Linked DNA regions of Homo sapiens: region 1 is linked to region 2. The links are contacts of gene promoters, found by promoter capture Hi-C in human tissues and cell types (Jung and others, 2019). All regions are on one chromosome and are shown on one strand. Each heading gives the region's core, a stretch centred on a gene start or on the middle of the fragment in contact. The rest is flanking DNA. Distances are from core to core; before and after follow the strand shown.

Evidence for each region. Contacts are between HindIII fragments. The study calls those that stand out against the background at their distance.
Region 1: a fragment that was not itself captured here is called in contact with the fragment with the promoter of PHF14 in region 2 in 1 of the 25 tissues and cell types used here (H1 embryonic stem cells).

What each region holds. Positions count from the first base shown.
Region 1 is chr7:11,309,822-11,316,275 of GRCh38, forward strand. No RefSeq gene overlaps it. Among named protein-coding and RNA genes, the nearest start is that of PHF14, 340 kb to the left of the region's middle. The HindIII fragment of the contact is 5,103 bases long and covers 2,336-6,454 here.
Region 2 is chr7:10,972,150-10,978,417 of GRCh38, forward strand. It overlaps PHF14 (PHD finger protein 14), which reads left to right and starts at 1,723. Exons shown (of 18, transcript NM_001007157.2): 1 at 1,723-2,175; 2 at 2,686-2,796. The coding sequence starts at 2,175. RefSeq lists silencers at 918-967, 1,478-1,537, 2,518-2,567 and an enhancer at 1,493-1,787. The HindIII fragment of the contact is 9,763 bases long and covers 1-6,268 here.

The DNA of each region.
Region 1 (6,454 bases), core at 3,637-6,136, 340 kb after region 2:
CTGAAGCTTTTATGGAATGTATTTGAATTGTCCCCTCTTTTTTTATTTCTTCTACTTTTACTTTAGGTTCTAGGGGTACATGTGCAGGTTTTTTTACATAGGTAAATTGCATGTCACTGAGGCTTGGTGTATGAATGATCCCATCACCCAGATAGTGAGCATACTACCCAACAGGTAGCCTTCCATCCCACGCCTCCCACCCCCTCAAGCAGTCCCCAGTGTCTATTGTTCCCATCTTTGTGTAAATGTGTATTCAGTGTTCAGCTGCCACTTATAAGTGAGAAAATGAAGTATTTGGTTTTCTGTTCCTGTGTTAGTTTGCCTAGAATAATGGCCTCTAGCTCCATCCCTGTTGCTGCAAAGGACATGATTTCATTCTTTTTTATAGAGTATAGAATTCCGTGGTGTATATGTACCATATTTTCTTTATCCAATCCACTATGGTTAGGCATCTTGGTTGATCACATACATTTGCTATTATGAATAGTGCTGCTATGAACATATGCATGCATGTGTCTTTTTGGTAGAATGCTTTATTTTCCTTTGGGTATGTACCCAGTAGTAGGATCGCAGGGTCGAATGGTAATTCTGTTTTAAGTTCTTTGAGAAATCTCCACAATGTTTTTCATAGTGGCTGAACTAATTCGCTTTCCCGTCAGCAGTGTGTAAGTGTTCCTTTTTCTCCACAGCATCACCGGCATCTTTTTTGTTTGTTTGTTTGTTTGTTTTTTGAGATGGAGTCTCGCTCTGTCACTGAGGCTGGAGTGCAGTGGCACGATCTTTGCTCACTGCAAGCTCTGCCTCCCGGGTTCACGCCATACTCCTGCCTCAGCCTCCCGTGTAGCTGGGACTACAGGCGCCCACCACCACACCCGGCTAATTTTTTGTATTTTTATTGGAGACGGGGTTTCACCGTGTTAGCCAGGATGGTCTCGATCTCCTGACCTCATGATCCGCCTGCCTCAGCCTCCCAAAGTGTTGGAATTACAGGCGTTAGCCACTGCACCCGGCCCATCTGTTGTTTTTTGACTTTTTAATAATAGCCGTTCTGACTGGTGTGAGGTGGTATCTCATTGTGGTTTTGATTTTGAATTGTCCCCTTTGGAATTGGCCTTTCAAGGGTCAAAAACTCATAGTCAGTGGGTTTTATAGCACGTAAAGATGCAGGAAGAGTAGAAAGGAGAACTCTTACCCTTGAGGAAGTGTTACGGGGTAAAAATTTCTCCCATTCACCTCTCTGCTAATAACCTATGCACAAATGTTAAAGACTATCTCTTCTGTGATGAAATGTGTTTTCTTAAATTCTTTATATCTTCAATTTCAGTTTTAAGAAATTTCAAAGATGAAACAATTTGGGGAAGAAATGGGGAAGAAAAACACACATTTTTAAATAAAGCTGTGCTTGAGGTAAATACGGCAGTACATTCAAGAGACTTCCACCAACTTCTGTCACTGTAAAAGCACTTAGAAATATTTTTGGACAACTTTCAGGAATGACCTTCATTATTGCTTTTAACCTTTGTGTCTGTGTGTGTGTTTCCCATTACCCTTATTTGATTTGTATTGTTACCAAAGTTATTGCACTTTTGTTGTGGGGGCATGCAATAATTGATGTTTATGTGCTCACCATTTCTTTGACTGTTGGGCAAGCAAGACGTTGCCTGTCCCAGACTTCCCTAGGGAGAGCACGTTGTAAATGAGTAATGCCCCCTACAAAAAGAAGGGACGAAAAGAAGTGCACATTTGTATAAATAAAACCCCTTTTTATTTTGCATGCATAGTTTCAGAAGAGAGAGACTAGATATTCTTTCTCCCCCTAAAATGCATTAGATGGATACTTCCAGAGGTGTGAGCTTTTATTATGCTATTCATTTGATTCATGATTCATAAAGCACCTTTGTAATGAAAGCTGGCCAGTGTCTAAGCCAACACACTGACTTTAAAGATAGGCTTCGGCCATAATTCTCTGTGCTCTGGCTAGAGCAGCAGGGAACACCAACAGAATTTAAACTCATAGTCTTTCAAAGTAAAATTTGATAAAGAGAAGCTTACCTAAAATATTGTTGGTGAAAATAAAAGGAAGGCAGTAACTTGGAAAAAAAAAGGAAACAGAATTGTTCCTTTTGGAGCTATATTTTCAAAGAAAAACTGTTAGTCTTTTTATTCATGCCATTAAAGTTTTTCCTCCACCTTCAGAAAAAAATAGCATTATTACTACAGAAGAAAGGAGTAGTCAGATGTTTTATTTTTAGGTGAAACCAAATAGCGTGACTCTGATTAGTTGCTGCAAGTTTCAAATTCTGATAACCTCATTCGAACCAGGGACTCATGTGGGCTTTTGGTGGATGGGGAATCTGGCTGTTTATATTCTTCTTGACACAATCCGCGAGTGCTGGATTCCAACAATCACAGACAATTCTGCTCTCCATGTATTGTGATAAGTAGAGCAGTTTATACAATTCCAATACATTCTATAAATGGTTTTTCTTATATAATGGGCTTTACTCTTTTTGGTGACATAATCAGATAGGTAAATAATAGCAGTTAGAGCAGAATGAAATGGTGTAGCCAAGGGCAGAACTTACTATTACTCTTAGCATTCTATCCCACTAGAGTTAAAAAGCTTTAAAACAAGTGGTTTTTTTGTTTTTGTTTTTCTTTTTGCACTTATTTAAAATTCTTCTAGTAACAAAAAAAGTCATGTTAAGGTGCATAAGGTTATGTTTTGCATATATTCAAGAGCCTTAAATATATACTAAGAGGCAAATGAGGGAGGGAACATTTTGTGTTCAGTATAAGCAAAATTCTTAGTGTTCTGTATCTGGAGTCTTGGTTAGTAGCTGACATTTCTGATGAAGGACAGGAAATTGGAATCTAATAGATCTACTCTACTTTGCTACAACCTGTTAGCAAATGTTGCCTCAGCCTATCTGTCTGTCATCTGCTTTTTCTCTCCTTAACTTGGGCATTAGGTATATGTAAATCATAGTCTCAGGCCCTTCTTAATAATGTGGCAATGGCTCTTTTCTTTATTCGTGTTTTTCTTCAAAAATAATAACCACTTTTCTTTTTCTTTTCTTTTCTTTTTTTTTTGAGACAGTCTCACTTTGTCATCCAGGCTGGAGTGTAGTGGCACGATATCAGCTCACTGCAACCTCCACCTCCCAGGTTCAAGTGATTCTCCCACCTCAACCTCCTGAGTAGCTGGCATTACAGGTGTGCACCACCACACCAAGCTGATTTTTATATTTTTAGTAGAGACAGAGTTTCACTGTGTTGTCCAGGCTGGTCTTGAACTCCTGACCTCAAGTGATCCACTCACCTTGGCCTCCCAAAGCCCTGTGATTACAGTCGTGAGCTATGGCGCCTGGCTCGCTTTTCAGTATGTAACACTTCTGTCCTTTAATTGTCACAACAATAGCTTATGGTGATCATTGTATGTGGTACAGTTGTCCCCCCTTATCCACAGGGGATGTATTCTGAATCTCCCAGTGGAGTGGATACCTGAAACTGCCGATAATGCCAAACCCTTTTGTCTTCACAATTTCACAGATAGAAGGCTGGTTCTTACCATAAATCTTAGCCACCTCAGCATGCGATTTTTGTCTTTCCTTATTAAGTCGAGAACTTTCACCTTTTACCTTAAAGGAAACACTTTATGGCTTCTCTTTGAAAGATCTAAGTAGCCAGCATCACTACTCCTGTGCTTTGGGACCATTATGAAGTAAAGCACTGCAATACTGAGACAGTCGATCTGATCATCAATAGGGCTACTAAGTAACTCACAGCTGGGTAGCATACACAGTGAGGAGACGCTGCACACAGCAATGATTCCCATCCCCAGTGGGATGGGGTGGGATCCAGCATGCTACTCAGAATGGCAGGCAAAGTACAACTTAGACATTACCTCTGAAATTTTCCATTTAGTATTTTCGGGCCAGGAATATTGTCCACAAAAGTTAACCATAAGTAACTGAAACCGCAAAAAGGGAAACCATAGTTAAGGAGAGCCCACTGTATTATTGCCATTTTTCAGAGGTTTAGGAACTGTTAAGATTTGAAGCCTAGAATGTCCAACACTAGAGTGCCCTAAAATCTGTAAGCTCTTTTTGCTGTTGTTAATATTGCATGGCTCTCTGTGCCAGCCAGATTGAATGACCTCCAGAAATTAAGTGAGCCAGTGCCCAAGATGCCAGACCAATTGGCTTGGTTTCCAGACTTGGTTGAGCCCAGCTGCTCACCCTCTACCCTGGGGGTGGCGGACAATAACTAAAAGAGAAACATCTGATTCCTGTCTGGAGCTCTCTCCCTCTTTCCTATAGCACTGGCTGTTTAGGAATAGGGATTCTATCTTCTGGTGTAGTTTTATGTCTGGCACAGTGTTCTGGTAACTATGGAATGCAATATTTGTAGAAAAAGAGGAAGAACAATTTACCTATCTGTAGTGCTCAGATCATTCATCCAAGAGTAAGTAATGCCTAATTGCATGAAGACTGCCACAAGGAAGAACTAAATCACATACACACATGATGCCAAAGAGTAAAGATAGTAGCAATACATAATATTTAATTAAATGCACCATTCAGTGTTTTTGCCCTGCCCTAAAGTTTATGTGTTGATAAAAATGACTTTCTGATATTGGGAGTTCATTTCAGAAAATACTCTTATATTTTGAGAATATTTTCCATTTGGTTAATGAGGTGGTAATACATGTAAAAGAAATTAAGAAAACCTCATTAAGGGATCCAAAAGAGTAATATTTTACAAAGAGTAATACCATCAAATAGTATCATCTCAGCGTTGAACATCTCAGATGTTTCAGTGTCCTCTCCTATGTGTGAATTCCCTCTACAACATCCTGAATGCACTATCTCCAGCCTCTACCCTGATCCAAACATGGACAAAAACAATTTTTTTTACAACCACAAATTAAAGTCTTGGACAGCTGTAATTCTTACACCCTTTCCTAATACTGAATTGAAATATGCTTTCTCTAGTTTTCACCATGCTGGTAGTCCTCTTTTTTCTTTTCTCTACTTTTTTCGCTCTCGCTCTCTCTCTGTCTCTCTCTCTCTTGTAAAACTGCTCTAAATTTGCTGGGTTGGAATCTAAAGTTGAATTGAAAAATTGATATGTAGTGTAAGACATAGCATTTAAACATACTCTATGAGTGGTCGTTTAAATTGGACCTTTAAAAAAATGCGAAAGGGGTAAAGAATAAAAACACTTAATTTTCTCTCATTTGTTTTATTTTTAAGCATCTCCATTGCACTATTTCACTCATCTAAGTGAAATCAAGATCTTGGTTTTGGACTAAACTGGAATTCAAATGTGTATGAGCATCTTTGTTATTTAGTTGCGTGGGTTCATGAGGAGTTTATTTTGATTTTTTAAAAATTGAGGGGCTCTGGATTTTTTCTGTGCACCTGAAACAAGAGTTGAGATGAAGAGGGCAGCGTGTGTCTGCCCACCACACTGTCTCTGCTTGAGGCTATAGACTTGCAGCCAGAAAGCAGAGGAACACTTCACAAAGAACTCCGTGAGATATGAGAAAAGTGAGTCCTCTGGCTTTACTGCAGGTTATAAGCTGTAACCTGAGTCAGGGAGAGAGACATTCTCCCAGGAGTCTCTGTGAGTCTCTGAGGGTTTGTTGTCCTGGGAAGATTTTGGCAGTGACGCTTTTGATGTGAAAAATTTGCACTGAAGGGAGGGAAACAGGCAAAGAAGACTTCATTTAAGACTCTTGCAATAGGGAAGATAAATAGAATACAATTCTGCTGAAACAAGAGGTGGGAAGACTTTTAAATGCCAGGCTGGGCTAGTAGAAAAGTTCTTAAAAAGTTATTAGGGGAGAGGCTGGTCATGTGATTAGGCCATCTGTTTTGGCTAATTGCCACTTATGGAAGTTAGGTTTCTACCCTCCCACAGAGACTGGGAGAAAAGAGTGCTATCTTTCTTGATGATTGCATTTCAAAGAGATGGCTCTCAGGTCCTTGAGACAGACATCACTGGACTGTGAAGCAAGAGACTAGAAGATTGACATCTCAAAGTGAAAGAGTAAAAATTTGCATCTGTAAGCTTTGTAAAGTAAATGTTCTAAAAAAGGGGAGGTCAGGGGCTTATACATTCAGGAAGAAGCCTGTCAAAAGTTTAGTCAAGCTGAAGGGAACCTTAAGAAGGTCTTGATCAAACAAGGGTATTCTCCTGTGGCTGTAGCAGTGGCACTGAGAGGCACAGTCTTCGAGTGTTTTGGAAGCAGTGGGTGTCACTGAAAAGCTAAGACACTGTGAGAAAATAACTCACGAGATACTTCCGGATCTCCTGGAAGCTCTTGGAGAGGTTTGCAAAAGTCTGAAAGTGTGTGCAATATAGGTAGGGGCAAGACCAGTGAAATTTGGGTCATCACCACTAATGTGATCCCATAGCCAGCCAGTGACTGGCAAGACCGAAGAAA
Region 2 (6,268 bases), core at 473-2,972:
GGTCTCGAACTCCCAACCTCAAGTGATCCACCCGCCTCAGCCTCCCAAAGTGTTGGGATTACAGGCGTGAGCCACCGCACCCGGCAGTACAGTTTTTCTAGAGCAACTAGGTGTTATTTATTAAAGTAAATGAATTAATACATTTTGATTCTGAAAATCTCCTTCTAGAAATTAGTTTTACATAAACACGAATGCCAGATTTTGAATTTCTCTTTTAGATGATTCAGCATAATTGCTCCAAATAAATCTAAAAGGCTATTGTCAAACAGTGGAATATTTGGATTTATAATTTCATAGATAAGACTATCAGTCCATGATATGGTTGGTGTTTAAAGTAGAATGGAAGTGAAATTCCCAGAGTGGAGTTTTTAAAATAACCAAGTTCCTAGGATTTTAACTGGAAGAATAAATATCTGAAAGGCAATGAGGAGTATTAAGCATGGGATGCCACTTCTGCACCTTGAGAAAATGAAGTATGGAAGGATGAGTGGTTTTCATTTGAGAGGGCTGCAGGGTAACTGTTTCTATTTCAGATGAGGAGGTAAAAAGAATGGGCATTGAAAAGGAAAAATGTTTACTAAGTAGGTTATACATTTTGGAATAGAAGTTTCTATAGCACAATAGAAAAGTTTGAGAGGTCACATGGCAATGATAGTTTGGGTGAGAGTGAGGCAGGAGAATAGGGTGTGGAGGCAGGGAACCTAAGGATGTGTCACTCCGACTTCCTAAGAACTAAATTGAAAGGAAACCCCTAACTTTCCATGCCTAAGTAACAAAAGGACCAGAGGCTACTCCCTTTGCAAACCCCCACTTTTTCTGCAGGGCAGATGGGAAATTGGCTGTGGGCAGCAAATCAGACTGATTGCAGGAGAGTCTTCCTTTGCATAGAAGTATCACTTTGTAACTTCACCATCTGCAAGAAATCAAACTGATTGCAGGGGAAATCTTCCTTTGCATAGAGGTATACCACTTTGTAACTTCACCCTAGCCTCTGATTGATTGCTTTTTGCACCAATGTTTGCACAGGAGCATGACCTTTGTAACTTCACTTCAGCCTCTGGTTGGCTGCTTTCTGCAACCAATCAGACTGATTGCGCGTTACTTCATTTACATGAGGTGAGCATTAGGTGGCCAATAGGAAGCTTCTAGAGGGTATTTGGACTCAAGATTCTGTATCCGGGCCCTTGAGCCGCTGCTCAGGTCGCTTCCGTACAGAGCGTGCTTTAATTTTCAATAAGTCCCTGCTTTTGTTGTTTTGTTGCTTCATTCTTTCTTTGCTTTGCTGGGCGTTTTGTCCAATTCTTTGTTAAAAACGCCAAGAACCTGGACAACTTGCAGTCACGATCCTCTACCGGTGACAATATCATTTAAATATTGGTAGTGGCTTAAGGTAGCAAACATCCCTTTGTGGAACGTTTACTCAGTAAATCCTTAAAAAACAGATCAGAAACAAAAACTGGCCTCCCAGGGATTTGGACTCAGGAGGTGAATTAGGCGCGGAGAGGGCGGAGCCTTTGGGGTTTATGGGCGGAATTGCACAGGGTTTGGCGGGGATCTCTGCTCCGCCTTGGCACTACTCGGCTCCGCTCGCCTCCGCGCGGCTCCCTGGGCTTTCACTCGGCTCTGTTCGGCTCCTGCTCGGGAAGGGTGCGCGGGGGCGAGTCCTGCGCATGCGCCCTCAATTCCTGCTGCTCTCAGGGCTGCGCTCAGCCTCGTGTTTTCACTTCCTTTTCAGAGCTGTATCCGGGTCGCTGCTTTCCCTATTGTCTGAGGCAGCCGCCCTCGCGCTGTGCAATTTCTGGTCTTTCGTTGCTTCTGGTCCAGGCTAATAAAGTTTTTCTTTCTTTAATTTTTTTTCTTCTAGTTTTAACGGGAGAAATTAACTCCCCGGGGCCGCCGGGTTGACTGCGCTGCCTGGGCCGGAGGTCTTCTCCGGCCAGGGAGCGCTGTGGGAAGGGGCTCGAGCGGCCAGGGCCAGGCGAGGCCGGGGGGGCGGGGGGTTAGGGGACCGCGGGGCTACTCTTGGGAGCGCCCCTGTCCGGCTGGCTGCGCGCCGGTTTTAAATAGCATCTTTCGGACTTGTCTTCGCGGCCCCAGTCCCCGACCTCGGCGCTGCCTGGGCTCCTGCAGCCTCTCCCTAAGTCTTCTCCAAACGACCACCTCACGGATTCCTTAGTAAGTGTATCCGAGGCCTCTGCGGCGAGAGGTCCATTTCAGCCATTCTAGAAGTCAGGGCCGGTGGGAGCAGGGCAGGGGTGGGAGAGTCCTGCGGGAAAGCAGGATTGGTGGACCCTCGCCCTCCATGGTCCGCGGGAATGAAGCCCGCTTGTTTTATTCCCTGATTTTTGCCGTTTTTATTGACTGTTACGATGTCTAAGTGGGGGATTACGAGGAAGGTGCAGAAACATCTCGAAAAGATGAGCAAGAGGGTCAGCTTCGATTTTAGCTGGTCTGAGTTGGCGTTGGCAGCATCAGGGCTGGAGCTGCCTTTGAAACTGCCCGTGGAGCTGTCCAGCCCTCCCCACCCTGCTTCTGCACCCCAACCTTCTCCTGACCCCTTTTGCTGAGAACTCAGTTAGACAAAAATTCCTTGTGCGAGGTCATCTTTATGTTCTCTTAGCACCACAACTCTCCCCTGTGTTTGGTGTGATTATGAATGACAATGTAATTTTTTTCTCTTCACAGTGGATCGCAGCTCCAAGAGGAGGCAGGTGAAGCCTTTGGCAGCTTCTCTGCTGGAAGCTCTTGATTATGATAGTTCAGATGACAGTGATTTTAAAGTTGGAGATGCCTCAGGTAAATATTTCCTTCTCTCTTCCCCTTTCCCAGCTTTCTGGAGTTAGGCTTATTTTTAGACTTTTTAAATCGGTTTTGATTAAAATGCCAATTTTAAGTGAAAGCACGTAAACTTCATTTATTTTGTCCATTTGATTTCCCATTTTGCCTTTAGATCCTGTCACTAGACCTATAATTGCTTCTGTTTTCCTCAGAGATAATTAGCAGTCAGGGGAAGGACTTTTTCCAAAGATGCAAAAGGATTTCTCTGTTTTACACCTTAAAATATATTTATGCTTATATTATAGAGGAAAAAACTGAAAGATATCCCGAAGTAGAAAAGTATCCTGAGAGGTGTGTGGACCATTAATAGTCCCTGAGCAGGGTTCTTCTTTTTTCAGATCACTTGACAATCTCTTAGGGGAGTTTTGCTTTTTTTGTGTATTAGCTCTTTTACTAGAATAAAATTGACCAGAGTAAGAGTTGCACTTCAAATTATAGTAGGTGCTGGACCTTGTGGATTGGGCCTTTCAGATGTCTCTGAAGTATAAGTCATGCATGCTTGCTCACTATATTTAGTAATTTTAAAAACTTTTTTTAAAGGTCGTATATTCACATTGTACTAAACTGGAAAACAGAAAAGTATGATTTTCCTTTGTATTTTCTGTTCAGTGTACCTTATGTATATATACAGTTTCAATTGAAGGAATCTGAGAAACAAAAATTATGTTTAATTTAAATGTTTTATGGGAAAAATACTGATAAACATGAACAATGAAAATTATGTGTAATTCCACCTCTTTTGAAAATTTTAATAAAGTGAGATGAAAATTTAAATAAAATGAGAAGTAAAAGCCTTTCCAGTTTCATCTCTTCAACAGTTTTTAAATATACTTCCAGAGAGTTTGCCGTGGTTAGTCACATCTCTCCTTCTTCTGGTTTTCCCTTGTCTTTTTCCTGCTAGGGATAGTAGGAAGGGATGAACGAAATTATATTACTGTTGCTACTTTTAGTAGCATCAACAGCAGAATTTGCATTGTGATTTACTGATAACTTTTTGTTTGCATAATCTCACTTAATTTTCACAGTAACTTAGTGAAGGAGATACCATTTTACAGGTAACAGGGGTATTGAGTTTAAAGAACTGGCATGAGGTCACTCAGGCAGTAACGGATCCAATGGATTTGACTTCAGAATTTAGTCTGTTTATCTGCTTGGATCCCAAGAGTTGATGGACGGAATCTTAAACAGAAACTGACTATTTGGTTACTAATTGAATTCATCCGCAGCAATCAAAAATTGATAAGTTTATCTTGATTAACTGTTTTTTTATCCTTTGCTTCTCAGCTCTTTATCTCCCATTTAGTTGGTTTGCTGATATTTGGTATTTCCAAAGAAGGGAAGGGGAAGGGAAAGGAGGTAAAATTTAAATCTTAGTTCTCTTGGTAAAGACCTTGGCAGATAAGAATATTCCTGGCTAGGATGTAGTTTTGGTTTGTTATGGTTGTGGTTGTAAACTTTGACAAACATAGTTGGGTCGTGGAAGTTACGAATTCTTTGAATATGGGAACAATTCTAAAACTTACATTAAGTATTACATTATTATGTGACAATAAATCTTGACTTTATGGACAATTTGTTTCCAAGGTTTGTTCATTGAGATGGAATATTCACAGGTATCACTTCTTTTTCAAGTGGTAAAACAATCTGATACAAACATAAAGTACTTTCTCAAAATATTTTATGATATCGAGCTAAGTAGAGATTTCTGACCTTGTTAAATCCTAATTATAGTTGAAGAGAACTGTTATTTGTGAAAAATGATAGGATGAGTTTTGTTAGGTTGATATATCTATATATCCCTTAAACACACTAAAAATATTTACTTTCTGTTCCCTCTTGTAATATAATATCTAGTATGCTGCACTCATAATTTACCTTCCTGGCCCCCTGGGGAGCTTAAATTTGTGATCTGTGGTCTCAGGTCACAAATTTGTATGTATAGTTCTTGGTATTTATTGTAAAAGGGAATTTAGAAGAAAATGATTGTATTTAAAATGATTAGTAGTCAACAGAAATTGAATCATATTTTTGACTCTTGTTTTAGGTGCATTGATGCTCTGCATAGCTGAGATATTCGCTTACTCTAGATTACCATTGTTTTCCATTTGAATCTTTTCTGTGCCTGAGATAGTATATATTTAGTTGGAGTCTTGTAGAGAATAAGACATTAGTCCTATCACTGGTTTCCAAACATGTTGAAGTTGTGGATTCCCAGCCCTACTTACGAATAGGAGATTAAATTGGAAGTAGAGAAATGGTAGCTAAACATCTGTCTGATCATATCTTCTTTCAAAACAACTTCTAGAAATGACTCATTGAATGAACTACGGACTTCCTTAGAACTTAATATTAAAGTGGTTAGATTCGTTGGCCTTAATTTTGGCTAACTGGATTCCGTGGATCAATTTCTTCTTACCTTCATCTTGAAATCTGAAATTCTGACTATAAAACTTTTTATATTTCTGTTTGGTTTTAAGAATAAATATAGAAAACATTTGCAGATAAACATAATTTAACTCTATCATAAAATAGAAACAAATCAACATTGGTAAAGAATGACCCACCCATAAGATTGGCAAGTGATTACGAGCCTGTACCTTTAGAAAATTATGAAACTGAAGATAGTTTATATTTTATTTTTAATGCAAAAGCAAAAGTAAGCTTCTCATTTTTGATTGAAAGCAGTCAATAAAGTTTGAAATGAGTAAGTCCTAAAATAGGATATATATGCATTATTAGAATTATGGTGATAACCACCAGAAGAACCATATGTAGAAATGTTAGGTTGAACTATATGGAATTACCAGTTTTGTAGGTCCAAAACACACAGTCAAATATTAGCAATTTCATGGTTTTACCTAGTTAAAGTGTTGATATTTGAGACTTGGGCATAGGGTTGGGTGTATGATAGGAGACTTATTTACATTTGGTTATCTGCTACATTAATTGAATGTTTTAAAGAATGTTTACATCTTTTTAAAGATGCAGACATGTATTACTTCTATTAACCAGACAGATTAGCCATGCTCTCTACCCCTATCCCCCACCAGGCAAAGTAAAATGGGGTTAACTTTAGATCTTGATCAAAAGTTAGTTTAGTTAGGCCATATTGCCAGGAAATAATTTAATGAGAAGTGTCAGCCTGAGACTTTGGTGGTATTTTGTGCTTAATCTGACTTTGAATAAGTGGACCAAGATGTGTTCATTGATTGTCCGTAGTTTAGCCCTTTGCTAGATGTTATGGTGAATTTACAAAACAGTAGTAATAATATTAGAATAAGTAAGTAAAATAACATGTAAGTAAAATAAAAATTAGAATAATTAAATAAAATAGTTGATACAAAGGATGGTTGATCACTTGTGTAGTTCAAGTCTTTAATAGGAAATGAGATTAGATTGATGTAGAACAATTTCATTGAGGAGAGGAGGT